Regions from separate parts of the Homo sapiens genome. Here region 1 is linked to region 2. Evidence: promoter capture Hi-C in 16 types of primary human blood cells and fetal thymus (Javierre and others, 2016). All regions are on one chromosome and are shown on one strand. Each heading gives the region's core, a stretch centred on a gene start or on the middle of the fragment in contact. The rest is flanking DNA. Distances are from core to core; before and after follow the strand shown. Region 1 overlaps CAPZA2 (capping actin protein of muscle Z-line subunit alpha 2). Region 2 holds the start of ST7-AS2 (ST7 antisense RNA 2).

The links. The method cuts DNA at HindIII sites, captures the fragments that hold promoters and counts their contacts. A CHiCAGO score of 5 or more calls a contact.
Region 1: a fragment that was not itself captured here is called in contact with the fragment with the promoter of ST7-AS2 in region 2 in 1 of 17 cell types (erythroblasts); the score reaches 5.0 in erythroblasts.

Annotation. Positions count from the first base shown.
Region 1 is chr7:116,921,773-116,926,731 of GRCh38, forward strand. CAPZA2 (capping actin protein of muscle Z-line subunit alpha 2) reads left to right here. Exons shown (of 10, transcript NM_006136.3): 10 at 1-277. Among named protein-coding and RNA genes, the nearest start is that of ST7, 29 kb to the right of the region's middle. The HindIII fragment of the contact is 3,001 bases long and covers 1,060-4,060 here.
Region 2 is chr7:117,144,118-117,148,805 of GRCh38, forward strand. It overlaps ST7-AS2 (ST7 antisense RNA 2), which reads right to left and starts at 1,475. Exons shown (of 5, transcript NR_109981.1): 1 at 1,279-1,475; 2 at 50-136. All of the region lies in intron 9 of ST7 (suppression of tumorigenicity 7), which reads left to right. The HindIII fragment of the contact is 5,952 bases long and covers 1-4,260 here.

The DNA.
Region 1 (4,959 bases), core at 1,310-3,809, 220 kb before region 2:
ATATGACCAACGGAGTGACTGGCTGAGGGGAGAGAGGAGAGGACTTAAGCAACTGTGCCACTCAGCATTGGAAAGGTCACCTCTGTGACATTAAAATCAAGAATTCTGATAGAAGTAAGAGTTCTGGCATGAGTGGTGCTTTTCCAGAGTACACTTGGATATATGATTACATTTTAATAAGTTATATAAATATGCAGATATTCATGCGGCTTTTCCTCATTTGGGATTTTGGAAACTAAAATAGTAGTAAGAGCATTAAAAAAAAGATGTCCTGGAAGTTCTCGTTCATTGCAAATGTTCTTGAAATGTGAAATTCTTGGAAAAGTAATCAGGGACAACTATTGACAGTTGTGTGACATTTGGGTAGCCCTTTCTACAGTTAAAGTCATTGTGACTTTTAGTAGCCACACTGAAACCTTTGGAATAATGAAAGACCCTTTCAAAAGATCTTCCATACTGATGATCAGTTTGCGCCTTTGCCATCTATGGGGTATGAAATGTAAAGGCACATTTAGCCAGGAGTTAACACAGGTGTTTTGTAATGCGTGCATGTTATGAAACATCCCAAGAAAGATGTGTATTTCTGTTCACTTCTCTTAAGATGCAGTATTTAAAAGAATCATAGTGTACTTGCTAGTCTTAAATGTAAATTTTGGGCCAGGCACGGTGGCTCATGCCTGTAATCCCAGCACTTTGGGAGGCTGAGGCAGGTGGATCACCTGAGGTCAGGAATTTGAGACCAGCCTGACCAGCGTGGTGAAACCTCATCTCTACTAAAAAAATACAAAATTAGCCAGGCGTGGTGGTGCACACCTGTAATCCCAGCTACTTGGGAGGCTGAAACAATTGCTTGAGCCTGGGAGGCAGAGGTTGCAGTGAGCCAAGATCACGCCATTGCACTCCAAAGAGTGAAACTCCATCTCTGAATGAATGAATGAATGAATGAATGAACGAATGAATGAATGAATAGTATAGATTTGGGGGCTTGAAACTGAGGACTTCTTAAAGGCAGATGCTGTGTAGACATATCCAAATTTGACATTCTGAGTATTATGCAAAAGCTTTATTGTAAGTTTGACCAGTAGTGCTAGCTATTGCAGAATACGCAAAATATTCACAGGTTAAGATTAAAATAGCCGATTAAATTTTTAAGGTCTAGTTAGCATTAGAAATTAATGTCAGGTCATTCACATTTAAGCAGATGTATTGAGAGAGCTGTTCTAGGCGTTGTGGAGTTTGGAAAATAGAAAACCGTTTCTTAAAGCAATCTACAAACTACTCATGGAACAACAGTGTTTTCCTACCCTTGTCACATCACAACATATGTAGAAAATGATATTTGTGGCTGGGCACAGTAGCTCACACTTCTAATCCCAGCACTTCGGGAGGCTGAGGCAGGTGGATCCTTTCAGTCTAGGAGTTCAAGACCAGCCTAGGCAACATGGCAAAACTCTGTCTCTACTAAAAATACAAAAATTAGCCAGGTGTGGCGTACGCCTGTAGTCCCAGCTACTCAGGAGCTGAGCTGGGAGGATCACCTGAGCCTGGACAGGTTGAGGCTGCAGTCAGCTGTGATCGTGCCACTGCACTCTAACCTGGGTGATAGAGTGAGAACCTGTCTGAAAATATACAAATAAATAAGGCACACTGCAGGAAATGGACAAGGCTGCATGCTAATTGTTGTAAGGGTTAAGAAGATCAGTATCTTGGCACACCTTAAACCTGTTTAGGAAGATGTGCCATGGACAACACAGATTGTTTGTAAGATAAACTTCAAGCCTTACCTAAGATAGCTTTTAAAGAGATGTCAAGCCAAGGGAGGTTTTCTGGAAAGGATGAGTTTTAAACTGCTTTGGCAAGTATGCATGCCAGTGGTAGGAAGGAAATCCTCTTGTATCTCAGTGAAGCATTAATATGTAGATAATAGGTTTCTGGTAAAGAAATGTCATGGGTCAGAATGTCATCCAGTTCAAAACTAAATCTGACTTTAAAACAGCACAGTACAAAATGAAATTATAACAGTAACGTTAAGAATCAGTGTTCTTATAAACTATAGTATGGCTAATAAGATATTTTCTCTCTGGTTTTGGTATAATCTAACAAAAGAGTATTAGTTAACGTCAGTTTCCATTTTTGCAGTGTGACTGTATCAGAAAACAGATTTTTTTTCACACAAACTCGCTAGAAAACACATCACGGGTTGGGCGCAGTGGCTCACGCCTGTAATTCCAGCACTTTGGGAGGCTGAGGCAGGTGCATCACAAGGTCAAGAGATCGAGGCCATCCTGGCCAACATGGTGAAACTCCGTCTCTACTAAAAATACAAAAATTAGCTAGGCATGGTGGTGTGCACCTGTAGTCCCAGCTACTCAGGAGGCTGAGGCAAGAGAATTGCTTGAACCCAGGAGGCGGAGGTTGCAGTGAGCCGAGATCTCACCACTGCACTCCAGCCTGGGCGACAGAGCAAGACTCCGTCTCAAAAAAAAAAAAAACATCACGGATACCAAATCAGCCACTGACTCTCATAACATGAGCTGTGTGTGGGACAATCTGCAGTTAAAGCATGCTGATTAGTAGAAGACTGTTAAGGAAGCCCAGTTGGCATATCTTAGAAGATTGATGACTTCTGGGAAAATTTGTAAAATGCCCAGCTCTTTAACCAAATAAATTTTCAAGGAATTATTTTACTGCAAGGATATCCCAAAAAATCTTGCTGACTAAACAGCACAAAGTGTCACCTTCCTTTGGGCTGCTAACTTGCTAGACTCTCAGCGTCTGAATACCTGATCTGGATCTCTTCCATCCCAGACTTTGACCTGAAAATGAAGGCTTGCCTCCTGTTTCCCAAAAGAATACTAAACAGAAATAGCCGGGAGCAATAACTCTCTTAAGTATAAATTAAGGACTTAGGGAAGACTTTAGTTCTTTGAAAAAGGAGAGCAAAATATAGGAGATCAGTGTTCCAGGACACTGAAAGCATCTCCAGTGAGGAAAAGGCAAGGTAAAGAAAAGCCTGCCCACGCACACTCATTTGCCCCTTACTTCGGGGCTTTACAGAGGAGAAAGAGAAATTTTTAAAGGAAATAAATCTCATTCCAGAGACTTGAAAAGGCAAAACCGTAAGTCAACCTAAATATCCAACCACAGCGAATGAGTACAGATACTGTGGTTTGTTAACACTGGGAGAGCATACAGCTTTTAAAAACTTGTGAGTCAGAGGTTATATTAACATACTATGAAAACCCCTGTTGAGAGAACAAAACAAGTTGTATACTAACGTTTAAAAATACATAAAACAATACAAATGTTTTATCATTTTATATATAGTGACTCTATAAACATACAATGGATTAAAACACCAAATCAGGCCAGATGTGTGGCTCACACCTATAATCCAGGCACCTTGGGAGGCCAAGGTGCTAGAATCGCTTGAGCCCAGGTGTTCCAAGATCAGCCTGGGCAATATATCAAGACCCCATTTCTAGAAAAATTTTAAAATTAGCTGGGCACAGTGATGTGTGCCTATGGTCCTAGCTACTCAGGAGGTTGAGGCAAGAGGATCACTTGAGCCCAGGAGTTCAAATTACAGTGAGCTTTGATCATGTCACTGCACTCCAGCCTGGGTGGCCAAGTGAGACCCTATCTCTCAAAAAAAGTAGAATAATATATGTGTGGGGAGGAACATAAGGGAATAGGATTAGGGAACTGTATAAAAGGATTGTAACTTTTTTTAATTGGATAATAGGTATATAGGTGTTCATTACAACAATCTCAAATTTTAAATGTCATTTAAAAAATTATACAACTTATGCTGACATATAACTCTACGTGAAAGGAAATATATACAAAGATTGAGTCGGGCAAAAGTAGAAAAATGACAGGTCATAACCATAGGATGAATAGAATAGAAAGTTTACTAATACCCCTTTAAAAAGTCATTAGACTCATTATTTTACAGAGAATTTTATCCAACTTACCACATACAGATAATTTTCTATGTTACAGAAATTATTTTAGATGGTAGAAAAAGATAGATATCATTTTATGAGACTTATTTATAAGCTTAAATAAGAATAGCACCAAAACCAGAAAACTGATCAAACTTCCCTGTATAGTCAAAAGTAAAATTCCTTAATACATTAATAAAGAATACTACATTATGATCAAGTATGGTTTATCACTGGAAACCAATGATTGTTCCCTGTTAGGAAATCTAGTACAGTAGCCTCCTATATTAGCATATTAAAGAAAAGCACATATAATTCTCTGAGAAAATATCATTAAACCATTTGATAAAGTTTAGTCCCTAATCCTCACTTTAAGGGCAGCATCTCAAATCAATGGGGCAACAGATGAATGATGCTGAGACAACAGGGTAGCCAGCTGTGGGAGAAAAGTTGGATCTATACCTCATACCTTACACCAAGTTAAAATTGCACCAAAGATTTAATGATATAAAATGATATTGGCCACGTGCGGTGGCTCACACCTGTAATCCCAGCACTTTGGGAGGCCGAGGCAGGCGGATCACTTGAGGTCAGGAGTTGGAAACCACCCTGTCCAACATGGTGAAACCCCGTCTCTACTAAAAGTACAAAAATTAGCCGGGTGTGGTGATGGGTTCCTGTAATCCCAGCTACGGAGGTTGCAGTGAGCTGAGATTGCGCCACTGCACTCTAGCCTGGGTGACAGAGCGAGATTCCATCTCAAAAAAAAAAAAAAAAAGATATCATAAATGTTCTTGAAGAAATGGTATTTTTTAAGTAATAGCAATATCAGAATAATTTTAGAAAAAACCCTTAGAATCCATTCAATAAAAATAAAAATGTATTTGGCTGGGTGCAGTGTCTCATGCCTGTAATCCCAGCACTTTGGGAAGCCAAGGTGGGCAGATCACTTGAGTTCAGGAGTCCGAGACCAGCCTGGCCAACATGGTGAAACCCCGTCTCTACTAAAAAA
Region 2 (4,688 bases), core at 225-2,724:
TCAAACAAAAAAATAAGAAGAGTGACATTGCTGTTATACTTTTACAAACCTCTCTAGTGTCCAGATGAGCAGGAGGCTGGAGGCTAATATCTGCTTCTGTATTCAGTCTATGGTGATATTGCCCAACAGGTGACCTCTTGGAGTGGGAGAGGGAGAGTGAAAAAGGCAAAGAAAAATTTTATTATTATGAAAATAGTTTTGATCTAAGGACTCCCCGAAAAGATGTCAGACACTCCTCAGTGGCTCACACTTGTAATCCCAGCACTTTGGGAGGCCAAGGCAGGCAAATTGCTTGAGCTCAGCAGTTGGACACTAGCCTGGGCAGCATGATGAAACCCCATCTCTACCAAAAAAAAAAAAAAAAATTAGTTGGGCATGGTGGTACATGCTTGTAATCCCCAGCTACCCAGGAGGCTGAGGTGGGAGGATCACCTGAGCCTGGTAGGTCAAGGCTGCAGTGAGCTGTAATCAGGCCACTGCACTCCAGCCTAGGCAACAGAGTAAGACCCTGTCTCCAAAAAAAAAAAAAAAACCAAAATTCTGGGGGTTCCCTAACCATACCTCCAGGGGTTCCCTGACCATGCCTTGAGAGTCACTTGTATAAGCATAAGGAAAAACCTTGATTATAGAGAAAGTCTTTAGCATTAAAATTATAGCTGTCTATTTTTTGTATTTAGGTAATGTTGAGTATTATATGTGCTACTTGTATTTTCTTATGATGATAAAAGTAAAATTTAAAAATAAAGATTGAGACCACTTTCAAAAGAACAAAGTAGTGGATGCAAAAAAGGTAGAAAATGGCCAGGTATGGTGGCTCACGCCTGTAATCCCAGCACTTTGGGAGGCCGAGGCGGGGCAGATTGCTTGAGCCCAGGAGTTTGAGACCAGCGTGGGCAACGTGGTAAAACCCCATCTCTACTAAAAATACATAAATTAGCCAGGTGTGGTAGCACACGCCTGTGGTCCGTGGTCCCAGCTGCTTGAGAGGCTGAAGCAGGAAGATCTCTTGGGCCTGAAGTTAAGGCTGCAGTGAGCCATGATTGTGCTACTGCATTCCAGCCTGGGCAACAGAATGAGACCCCATCTCAAAAAAAAAGTAGAAAATGGGGTAGACACAGGGAAATATGGATGTGGTGAAGAAAAACTTCATCCACCTAGAATTTTAGCGTAAAACCAGACCTGTGACTAGTTTATTCCCAGGCATATTAGTTTCCTGGAACTGTGATAACAAAATGCCCCAAACTAGATAGTTTAAACAACAGAAATTTATTCTCTCACAATTCTGGAGGCTAGGAGTCCAAGAACAAGGCAGGTGGCAGAGCCGTCCTCCCTCTAAAAGCTCTAGGGAGCAATCCTTAATTGCCTCTTCCAGCTTCTGGTGTTTGCTAGCAATCTCTGACATTCCCTTGTAGCTGCATTACCCCAGTCTCTGCCTGTCTTCACATGGCTTTCTCCCTGTGTGTGTGTGTTTCTGTGTATAGATTTCCCTCCTGTCATAAGGATATAAGTCATATTGTATTTATGACCTCATCTTAAGTTGATTGTTTCTGCAGAAACACTATTTCTGATAGGGTCACATTCATAGGTACTGAGGGTTAGGATCTCAACATGTCTTTCTGGGGGACATAATTTAACCCACAATAGCAGGTCATATATAAAAGCAAAATACAGATACCCTGTATAAATTTACATTCTTCTAAAACTTCACTGCTATATCAGGTCAGCTAAAAACATGTTTTGTATGCCTTTGACCATGTTAAACCCACTCTCAGCCTAGCCTGTAAAGATGATAGCTGCTAACTAACCCTCTGTGTTCTTACATTTGGCTCCTTTAAAAAAATAGTCAGAGGGAGCTCCTTGTGTCCTTTCTGCATTTTCATCATCATCTACAGGATTCCCAGCTGAGAACTACAGGGTTTTTAGTTTTTATCAATAACCTACAGAGTGAGTATTACATGTGCCATACATTCTGCTAAGAAATTTACAAATACTGTGTCATTTAACTCACACATACCATGAGTGTCCTATAAAATTACAAAAGTAATTTATGCTCATTGTGACAAGTCAAAGAATTGAGGAAGTTGTGATATCACCTACACTTCTACAGTGCCATCGCACTGTAAAGGCATATGTGACTGAAGACTGAAGGAGATGCCAAAGTTAGTCATGTGATGTATTTTCAAAGGCCCTGAGGCAGCAGTATGTCTGGAGTGTTCAAGCAACAGCAAAGGAATCTTGGGTGGATAGAACAGAATAAGCCCAGGGGAGAGAAGGGAGGGAGCTTAAAGATCATACAGGGCTTATTGATCACAGTAAGGATTTCAGCTTTTACTCTGGGTGAAATGGAGAGCTTTGCAAGGTTTTGAACAGAGGAGTGACATGACCAGTCTTAATTTTTACAGGCTGCTGTGTAGCAGCAGAGAAGCGGAGGAGTCGGTCAGCAGGCTCTTGTATTAATCTTGGCAAGCCACAATGGCAGCTCAGGCCAGAGTGGTAGCAGAGAAGGTGGTGTGAAGTGATCAGATTCTAGATATATTTTGAAGGCAGGACTAGCAGAATTTGCTAATTAATCAGATATGCAGTACAAGAAAAAAGAGAAGTCAGGGCTGATTCTAAATATTTGCCTTGAAAGGGAAGGAGTTTGTGTCAGCTAAGATGTGGAAGTCTGGGGTGAGAGAGGTTTTTTGAGAGAAAATTACGAGTTCAGTTTTGAACATGTTACATTTGAGAGAGCACCTATTCATTGTTATCTTAAGTAGTGACTTCTTGATCTTTTTGTGGACTATGACAAATGTATACTTTGTTGGGACATTTTGGGGGATTTGATTAGATCCCTCTTAAAATATAGTTGGTGAGGAACTTCAGGAAGATAAAATCTAATTGATTTCAGAGAAACTGTGACTATAACAGTCTTTGCAGAATACAGAATGTAGTGTCTTGTGTGTTTAATTTATATGTCTATAGATCTCTGCTTCTTCCCTGTTTTACTCAACACTGTTTTTCAATCTGTCCATTTTTGCTCTATGTACCTCTTGCATCTAGTTTGCAGTTTCTAACTGCTGCATCATATTCCATGTTGTGTTCTTACTCTATTTTACTTAACCTTTCCTCTAGTGAAGGAACTCCAGGTTTCTTCCAACTTCCTGTTATCCCAGCAGTGCTGCAATGAACATCCTTGTAGACATGTGAGAAACATTCATTAGGCTGTGGGATTATATACGTGCTAGATTCCAGTGAGTCCTGCAATTTCACTCTTCAGAATGGCTGCCTATGATTAAATTCTTACGAGCAATACCTGACTATGCCCATGTATCTCAGTACTAGGCTCTGCTTCAAGCACGTCTATATTTAATATACATATTTATATATTTTAAAAATTTATTACATATAGCTTTTCATGATGTTATTTCATAATTTAAAAATACTATGTAGTTTTTTTCTTCCTTTTCATTTTGTATTTTATTTGGCTAGTTTTTACTCTTATTTTGCCTGATTAGTCTTGGCAGAGGTTGTCTATTTTGCCAGTCTTTTAAAAACAATTAGGTTTAGTTTATTTCCTCAACTTTTTTGTTTTTATTCTGTTTTTTCTTTCCATATTTGTATTATTGTTTCTTCTCCTCCTCATCCTTCTCCCCCTCTATCCTCTGTGTTTGTTGCCTTTTTACCATTTGATCCTAAGCATTTTTAAATTTCTTTTAAATTTCATTTTACCCTGTATAGTATGTTTTACCCCTCGTCATTGATTGATTTTTTTCTTTACATTATGCTTAGAAAGCATACATCATATGATATTGATTTGGGGAGAATTTATGGTCACTTCCCCTGAGGCCTAGCATATGGTCAGGTTTAATAAATGTTATATCTGTGTTTGAAGGGAATATAATCCCTGTTGGGTATAAAGATTTGTATGTATTTACTAGTTTGAGCTTATAAACCATATTATTCAAATCTCATATATCAGCTTATTTTGTCTCTTTGCTCTATCAGTTTCTAAGAAGAATGTGATAGAATATTCACCTCCAACTGTTTATTAATCTGTTTTTTGCATGCTCAGTTATTTGTTCCTTTATATATTTTGAGGTTTTGTTGTTGGGTGCGTTTATGTTGGTGATTATTATGACTTACTGATATGTTATTATGAGTATATAATGTCTCTTATATTTATCTTCCTTGAATTTTTTAACATATGTTAAGAATACCTACTCTAACTTATTGTGATTCATATTTAACTGGTTTATTGTTGTCTAAATTTTATAATCAAGCTTCCTATAAGTTTTTGATGGATCATTTGGATCTGTAAAATTTTTGATGAATATTGTCTTTATTCAAATCTGAGGGTTTTATACTTTTGATTGCTATGTTTATCCCATTCGTGTTTATAGAGAGTAACAGAATAATTACTGCTTTTTTTGAGCGTGTGTGCTGTCTTTCATGTTTTCTATGTCGTACTTTCTCTCCCATTGAAAATATCTTCCACTGATTCAACATTTTAAATTTCTGTTTTATTCTTCTGATATTCCCAACTCACTAAGATCCATACTTATATTTATGGTTCTTGATCAGTTACTAAGCCTATCACTATGTCAATATCTATAAATTATTCCCAAATGATAGAATTAATTTAGCATATGGTGCCCTGCTTCCCACCCTAAATCAGGAGGCAACCATGGACATTTGTGAACAGCTTT